Regions from separate parts of the Homo sapiens genome. Here all the other regions are linked to region 1. The links are contacts of gene promoters, found by promoter capture Hi-C in blood cells and fetal thymus (Javierre and others, 2016). All regions are on one chromosome and are shown on one strand. The core of a region is centred on a gene start or on the middle of the fragment in contact, and the rest is flanking DNA. Distances in the headings are between cores, read along the strand shown.

Evidence for each region. Contacts are between HindIII fragments. The CHiCAGO score rates a contact against its expected background, and 5 or more counts as called.
Region 2: a contact is called between a fragment that was not itself captured here and the fragment with the promoter of TCERG1 in region 1, in 1 of 17 cell types (naive CD8 T cells). The highest score is 7.8, in naive CD8 T cells.
Region 3: a contact is called between a fragment that was not itself captured here and the fragment with the promoter of TCERG1 in region 1, in 9 of 17 cell types (total B cells, total CD4 T cells, naive B cells and 6 more). The highest score is 26.1, in total B cells.

The regions. Positions count from the first base shown.
Region 1 is chr5:146,446,054-146,449,141 of GRCh38, reverse strand. TCERG1 (transcription elongation regulator 1) reads right to left here and starts at 1,809. Exons shown (of 23, transcript NM_001382548.1): 1 at 1,734-1,809. The coding sequence starts at 1,792. RefSeq lists a silencer at 1,441-1,520 and an enhancer at 1,439-2,146. The HindIII fragment of the contact is 4,342 bases long and covers 224-3,088 here.
Region 2 is chr5:144,211,815-144,214,514 of GRCh38, reverse strand. All of the region lies in intron 3 of KCTD16 (potassium channel tetramerization domain containing 16), which reads right to left. Among named protein-coding and RNA genes, the nearest start is that of KCTD16, 42 kb to the right of the region's middle. The HindIII fragment of the contact is 2,001 bases long and covers 432-2,432 here.
Region 3 is chr5:144,195,348-144,198,339 of GRCh38, reverse strand. The region is part of intron 2 of KCTD16 (potassium channel tetramerization domain containing 16); the gene reads right to left. Among named protein-coding and RNA genes, the nearest start is that of KCTD16, 26 kb to the right of the region's middle. The HindIII fragment of the contact is 1,273 bases long and covers 1,071-2,343 here.

The sequences.
Region 1 (3,088 bases), core at 560-3,059:
CCCAACTTCTGCCATCAAAGAGGCCACATACACACCTAATTTCATGAGAAATGCTAAAATAAAGATCTGTACAGTATGCTCTGCAAGCAACTTCCAATCCAAGAGGCTACGGTATAAAATATTTGCAACAGGGCAAATTCATTTGCAAATTAAAGCTCTATTCAAATCAGTTGTGCAACAGTGTCTAGACTATTAATAAAGCCATTTGGATTTTTTTAAAGCTTTAGAAAGATACTTTCTAAAATGCAAAAGAATGTTCCCTAATAAATCCATCTGAAACTAGCTAAGTAACCTCCCTTTAAGATCGAAATCAGGAATAAACTTGGCATCGCTAATATTTAAAGATGCTGACAATTCACCTTGATCACTCATTAATACTGTATACATATGGAGTTTAAAGGATTTCAGATTCATCTCTGAAATAAAACAAAATTTCATTTCTGCCAAAGTGGAGATTTGTGTGTGCGACCATACAGAATCTGAAAGGCATTTTCCTCTTCTAAAACCTTGAATAACAATACCCATTTCCTTACACAATTTCATCTTAAGTTCAAGACAGTATCAACAGAGTCTTCATAATCTACCCTGCTCTTTTTCATTTTCAAACGTTGACAACAGCACAATTCAGAATGGGAGCTGAACATCTGAAATGCCATTTCTCCCATACAGAAAAAAACCAAAGTACCAAATACACATAAAGCATAATACCTCTTTTCCTCAAAAACCACTGACCAAAAGATTTCTCCAGGTCACTCTCATTTTACCAAATTTTAATTACAAACTCATAGACACTGAGGTTCCAGGGGAAAAAAAGGTCACTGCACTGTTCAAGGAAATGGCATGAGTAGTAGACGAATAGAACGCCAATTGGGATTGCAGGCTCTGAAACCTGACTGCCTGAGTTCAAGCCACTTCCTGGAGCCACAAATCCGCCTATGCAATCTTATTCTACTGACTCAACCTCCACGAGGCTGTTATCTCACCTGTAAGATGGGCGAGTAACAACTGAAGACCCCTCTGGTCTGTGGCCTGCAAAATGTTAATAGCAACTACTCCAAAGGGTGGTTGTGAGGATTAAATGAGACAAACCTAAGTAAAGGGTTTACTGGCACACGGTAAGTGCCTAATAAGGGGTTGCTACTGTTGTTGTTACTCACAACTACAGGATAATAAGGAATAAAGGGATGAAAAAAGGAAGAAAAGCCACAGAAGTTAAGAAAGGCAAGCAATGAGGGGGATGAAATGAAAGGGCAAACGTGGGGAGCCCAAAGAGCCGCGGAGGGCGTGGAGAAGGCTTAGCCAGAAGTGGCGAGGGGTACAGGGAAAGTAACTGCGGAGTGCAGAGACGTCGATGAGGAAAATCAGGCCCGCAGCGGAGCGCGGCCTGGGGACAGACTCAGGTCGGCCGAGACGGAGGCGACACGCGGCTGAGGCGGGGCCCAAAGGCGGGAGCACCGCGCCCGGCCAGAGGGCTGCAGGCCGCGAGAGGCGGCGAGGCCCCAAGAAAGCACTAGGAAGCAGCCAGGGAACGCGCAGGAGGCCCTGGCCCAGCCCGGGCCCGGCTCTCATTCAAGCCACCTTCCCCTTCCCCCTTCTTAAACCCCATGCGGTCCCGGCCCGGGCCGCCCGGCTCCGCTACCCACCGTCCGCCCCGGATCTCCACATGGCAGGTCTAGCGTCTAGCCTCTGGGGCTCTCGTGAGCAGAGATGTGAAGGAGGGCAGCGTTCCTTACCTGAGCTCCCCCGGGTTGAATCGTTCACTCTCGCCCCCGTCCCCGCCACGCTCCGCCATTACAGAGGGCCGCGTTCATCCACCCGCCGACCCGACGTCTCCTATTGGCTAGAAAAATCGTCAATCCCCAACGAGAGAGGCGGAGACAGCAGAAGTCTGAGATGCGGTTGGTCAAACTTTCCATCAATCTTCGAAATGGGGGCGATATGTTCTTTGCTATTGGGCAAGGCGCCCGCCGACTTTGAAAGCGGTATGAAGACAGCCAGTTGATTGGTGACTCGGGGGCTTTATGGGAAATGAGATTTTAGCAGTGAGGAACCGCCGGCGCCCTCTCGCGGTAAGCAGAACTAAGTCCTCCCAAGTTCGGCTCAGCCTGCGGTAGCCACGTGTCTGTCGGCTTCCAGGAGAGCCAATTGTGGAGCCATATTGGCCAGTAGTAGCTCAGGCGGAGAGCATTTCCACTGGGCAAGCCAATCAAAATCGACCTGGGCCGCGCCTAAACCGATTGCACAGTTGCTGTGGAAAGCCGCTATTTCCTAGCTTTACAGTAGCAGGAGTCTTAAGTCACCACTCAGCTCTATATCCATGTTATTAAATAATATATTATTAATTACAAGAATACCTCCCAAATTATACTAAACCGTTGCAAGCCAATAGGTGTTATAAGTTGCTGCATTAAGAAAGGTAAATTGGCGAAGGCAAGCCTCTTTGCAATTTACAGCTTAACCACGTCTCCCTCGATCTCAAAATGTGCTTGTCTGAAATTAGCACACCCAGAATACCAGACAATTCTGAATATTTATTTAGTTTTTCTAATTAACAAAAAAAAAAGTTTTGGATTTGGGGTTTCAAAGGCACAATGAAGATGAGCCCTTTTATTAAAGTCGTAAAAATATTAAAATAATACTAATAGATAAATTTTACTTGGACCTAACCATGTAGCAAACCCGGATCTAAGTATGTCAGGTACGTTAACTCTTTTAAGATTCAAAAATTGCTAGGAGGTGGGTAACATAGTCACTGTTTGTAGATGAGCTTGAGGCACAGAGAAGTTAAGTAACTTGCCCAAGGTCACACATCTACTAAATAGCAGAGCCTGGTCTTAACCCCAGTCAGCGTAGTAGCAAAGCAGCACTCTTAAATACTGTAAGCCTAAATAATTGGATCCACATAAAAACATGTGCACAAATGTTCACAGCAGCAATATTCATAATAGCCAAAAAGTATTGTAACAACCCAATGACCATCAGCTGATGCATGGTTAAGAAGCATGGTATAGGCCGGGCGCGGTGGCCCAAACCTGTAATCCCAGCACTTTGGGAGGCCTAGACGGGCGGATCACGAGGTCAGGAGATC
Region 2 (2,700 bases), core at 183-2,682, 2.2 Mb after region 1:
GGAGGGAAGCAGAAGCGATTTCACAAAAGGATGTGGTTCATGTTAAAGAGTTTGTATTTGAATACAAGAGCAGTTGTAAGACAATTATGAACTTTAAGCAAAGGAGTGACATGGTCAGTCACTCCTTAGAAATCTCATCATATTTGCAGCAAGGAGGATAGATCCAAAGGGGAAAATACTGGATGCGGGAGGGGGAGAACAATTTAAGCTCATTTGCAATAGTATAGAAAAGCAATAAAGGAATGCTCATGGCCTTTCCATCAGCGGAGATGGAAAGAAGAGGACGGACCTGAGGGAGATGAAGGAGAAGAACCAACAGGACTTGTTGGAGATTGGAGAAAGTGGGGAGAAGAAAGAATCAGGAATGTCACCTATGTTTTATTCCTCCTTGGGCAACTAAGTGACTAACAATGCCATTTAGAGAAGAAGCTTGGGAAACACAAATGGTTAAGTTCAGTGGAGTTTCAGCACAATTGAAAAAATACAAAGATACTCAAATGTAAAATCAGAATAGCCAGAAGGCAAACTTTTCTACCCAAAATGATTCTCATAGTCAACAGGGCCCACTGCACATCTTGGTAAGCTCAGCAGGCTACCACTGCAGCACCTGAATGGTAGCCTAATCTAATGACAAGAATGGAAGTGCAATACTAGACCTTGAATGACTGGAGAGAAAATAAGGGACCTCTTTGAATGCCTGCTTTGTCATCAGAATCAACTTGAACAATGGAGAGAATACACCCAATAGCTATTGATTCAGATGATAAATATGTAAAAGCTAACAATAAAAACATGCCCTTACCTTGCCTCCATAACATATAGCATTTCAATCCTCCAATGCAAATTGTAAAATGAACTTGCTGTCACCTGTGAAAACTTGTCAGAAATACTGAGTGAATTTGATTAGGCCTCTAAAATCTGGAGTCTAGATCTAACGAGCTTACCAAAAACATAAGGATTGAGGAGGGTGTGTTCATAATATCACGGAGATCATAGAGATGGATGAGCAAAACCCAGAATGCAAGATATTCAACATGACAACTTGATTTCATGAAACAAGTAAGTTGTAAAAAAGAGGAGAAAGAAAAAGAAAGAGAGAGAGAAAAAAAGAAAGAGAGAGAAAGAAAGAAAGAAAGAGAAAGAAGGGAAGGGAAGGGAAAAGAGAGAGAGAAAAGGGAATAGAGCAAGAGAAAGAAAGGGAGGAATTAAAAGAGATGTAAGATGGACATTTTACCACTTTGTTGCATATAAGTTATATGCAATATTTTTTAAATGATGAGAGAAAAGAAAATTAGCAAACAAATATAATATAATATGTAGATTTCATTTGCATCTTGATTCAAACCAACTTTTAAAACATTGTGAAGAAATCAGGAAACTTTAAACACTGACTAGATATTTGATAATATTAAAGAATTATTAATTTTGTATGTTATAATGGTATATGGTAGAATACCATATAATGATGTTATGTTGCTTTTAAAAATAATTTATATTTTAGAAATATATACCATAGCATTTGTGGATAAAGAAATGAATTGATGTCTGGGATTTGCTTCAAAATAATCCAGCATCGACAAAAGGGAAAGTAAGTAGGAATATGGATGAAACAAGATTGATCTTGCTGTGCTAAGGGTAATTATTAGAGATGGGTGATGGTTACATGAAAGTTCATTATGCCATTATCTCTACATTTGGATACATTTCAAAATTTCTGTAATAAAAAAAAATTAACTGATTTGCCAAGAAACACAATACTTGAGAAAAGCCATCGCAGAGGCAAAAGAAAAAGAGCAACAGTGCGTTATGATGCAGAAACTGAGCATTCATCTATCCATTTCTGGAAGACTTCTTTCTATGCATGGGACTGGCACTCATCCTATGCGTAGTCGCTCCTTTCCGTGTTTTGTGTTTGGAGGTGTTCCAGATGGAGCTTTGTGGCACATTCTCAGCTACTTCCATTTCTAATTTCTTTGATTAGATACAACCTCATTAGGCTGTTAGAAATATTTGGTCTTCTCTTTCCAATCATATATATTTTAATGTATCAGAACACTTGGGGGCAACTTCAGAGACCTCTCCTTTTCACCCATACATTGACACAATTCTTGCTGCCAAATACCTTCCCTGATGCCACAGACCCAGGAAGAAACTATTTTAATCTTCTCCTACAAGGGACTGGGCTCAGGTAACAGCTCTTGCTTGGCATAGAAGTGAAAACAGTATAATAAAATACTTCACTAACATGCTTAAATCACTGTTCTATTAAGCCCAATTCTCAGTGCACAGCATCTTAAAGAAATAAGAAAAATTATGCCTGCTGCTTCTGCCCTTTATTATCCAATATCTGCCTGAGCATGGGTCTAAACTGACTTCATAATGAAGCCTTATACTTAAACTGCGGTTTGTTTTTCATCAGAAATTAAGAAGCTTCAAATCTTAAGAACACTTTCTTCAAGGTAAAAGGATGCCTGATCCACAACTATTAAAAGTGCTCTTATGTACAAATACCCCTGGGGAAGGTAACATCATGCCTTGAAAGCATTCTAAATATAATGACAGAGCAGAATTTTTCCTGATGAGCTTTGATTATGGCATGGGAGAAAGAACTGGAGAGCAGACATGACTCAAACAGAAGGAAAGAGGAGCAGCTAAGGTGAGACAACAGAAGGAAGTCACAGAGAGAGATGCTGGTAGTGT
Region 3 (2,992 bases), core at 458-2,957, 2.3 Mb after region 1:
CATTTTTCATTCTTGGTACCCTCAAGCAGGTAGCACAAGGTCTGGCATCTGAGAGATGCTCAATTAATGTTTGTTTAATTTAATTGCAGAACCAAGAGCGAAATCCTCAGAATGGCCCAATGAAACAATTACAAAGCTGATAGGGTCATATCAGATGGAGCTGTTGGTTAGGAATATAAGGTAGTTGATTCCAGTTTGTTTCTCAGACATTGAGTTCTACATGCTAGCAGGGATCTTTTCATTTGGTCAGGTCCGAGAGAAATAAGCTGACTGCGAAAACCACCCTCTCTTAACCCACTACTACAAAGAGGTATTCATGTCTTCGATGTGGGGTCAAATTGGAATGGAAAAAAAGAGAAACCTTTAAAAGAAACACTCCTGAAAGAGTAAGAGATCAGAGTTTCCAGTTTCAAAATTTCACTGACACCAGTTTCTTAAAAGATTCATGTCTGTGCCTGTGGCCAAACAAATTAATAAAATTAACTGACCCAATTGCCAGGCAATTCCACATACATTTTCTATCTTAATTCCTAAAACAATCCTGAAATGTTAGCATTGTGGGGAGAATAAAAGAGCCTCCAAGAGGTTAAGTAACCAGCAGCGGATCACACCAAACCTGTCTGATTCCGAGGTCCTTTTTCACTACACCCAAATTATTTGGGCATATAGTTTCTTTTATTAAATATGCTCACTGTGTACCCAATGGTTTGGCATCACAAAGAACACCAACACAATCCAGCATAGATCACCACTATATCCCCAATCGCAGTTCAGTGCCAGGCTCAGAGTAAGCACTCTATATATATTTGTCAAAGGGTTGTGAGAATGAACAAGCAAATGAATGAATGAAAGAATAAACCACCAATTAGGCCAGTGGTATCCAGAAGTTTCATCTGGATATAACAAGCATGTGATCTAAGAGTGTAGCATATCTAATTTTCTTTACTCCTGAAATGTTGTTTCCAAATGTGAAAAGTGAAATGTTTATGAATAGAGCATCAGAGAACTGACCCTTCATGAATCCAAAAGGATAAGTAATATATATGTTTATGTTCCAGAATTTAAAAGCTTATAGAAATAAGACATTGCTTTTAGGATAAAAGTTTACATCAGAACTATAAAATTCTAGTTTTTATTTTTTAAAAAGTGCTTATATGCTTGAAAAATATGATTTACTGAAAAAGTATTTTGTCAAGGTACCAGACAATTATAATCCAACTATTTTATGCATCAGTTACTCTGCATTCTTTCCAAACATGTGTGTAGGATGGGTTATGGAGTTAGAATGCCTGATAATGATTGACCTACATAGACACACATACCGGGCACAAGATTTAAAGGGCCAAAGTACATAATTCAAATATGAGGTAGGAAACATCACCTTTTTTGCTGTACAACGCAGATTTGCACAGCTGCTGCCAAGGAAATTGCATGTTACCTTTACAGACAATGATCTGAGCCTCAAGCACATCTCACAATTACCCTAGGGGTCTCTCAAAATGACAGGCTGGTACTATTGCAATGTGCAGTTCCAATAGCTGCCAGAGGACATCAGACAATTGTTTGAAATGGAGCCAGTGTTGTATATCTTCCTGATAAATCTGGTTGCCATTCATCAGGAAAAAGAATGCCTATGAACAAATGGAGTGACACAAAAAAAGATTTATGTATCTGATAGAACCTGGATTCAACCTGGTGTCCCTTGAACAATCTCTTGAATTTTTCATATATTTAAATGAGGTCTTGAGAGTAGTTACATACATCTGTGTTGTTGATGTGCCATAATACAGGACATAGAAGCTGCAATTACTCCTGGATAGGACATATAATACAATTATAAATTAAGATTAAAAATTAGATGAAAGGGCTAGGGATGGAGAAATAATAAATGTTTTATTTGCCCCAAAGACAGTAATAAAATACCTTCCTTTTATTGCCATTTGGTCCGAGGTCATTTATACCTATAAGGGTAAAGAAAGAAAAAGTAACTGCCCAATGGAAGTGACTGATGGAGTTTTATTATTGTGAGGCACTGACAATAATAAAAGTGCTTCACAATAGTAAAAACTCGCTTCCCTCCAAAAAAATAAGATCACCTGCAGAGCCACTGGCCAATCAGAGCCGACATAGAGTCCTTCCCTAGAGCCCCACATAGTAATGACAGCTAAGATTGCTGGAGTCCAGCAAAATACGTTTTGAGCTCCTTTAAAATGTTTTGGCCATGTCTCTTATTATCATTCATTTACTCAAATATTTATGTGTATCTATTTGTACAAGGAACTATGTTAGGCTTTGTAGAGAATGTAATAGTGAATCAAACATGAGTGTTACCTTCACTAAGCTTATAATCCAATAGGGGAAAACACTCTGTGTCTGACTTGGAGACAACTGGCACACAGGAGAAAGTGATGACTGCTGTTAAGAGAAGAGGAAAAAGTTCTATGAGAGCAACAGAGCAACCAAAAGCAAAGTCATTTTTTGAAACTCTAAGAAACATCATGCCTAGAACAAAGTGCCCATTAATAAATTATTGATGAACTAAAGAAAGTGCCACTTTGCATTACTATACATTTACTCGGTATGAAATCAGAGAGGCACTCATTTAGAATTCATTTAGAGCTGTTCCAGACAGGGCTGATTCATTAGAGTGCTGATGATCTCAGAAATATTTTATATGTGTATATAAATGTAAGTCCGTTGCAGCACTCTACCGTACAGCTAATCTGTATTTGGTTCTCAGCCAGTGAAGACTAAGAGCCATTTGAGTGGCCCTTCCCTCTCCATTTGTTGACTCCACCAGCTCCCTCTTTCTGTGGTTCCTTGTGTGCCAGTGAACACTGAAGCTCAAGATGGCTGACAAAAGGTGACCAAGCAACGGTGCTGGAGATTCTGCAAAAATCATGAAAGGTGCTGGATGGTAGCAAGCAGGCTGCACTGCAACAACCTCAGATGCCCCCAAGGAGGTGGTCTAAGAAACCCAGATCAGCAGACA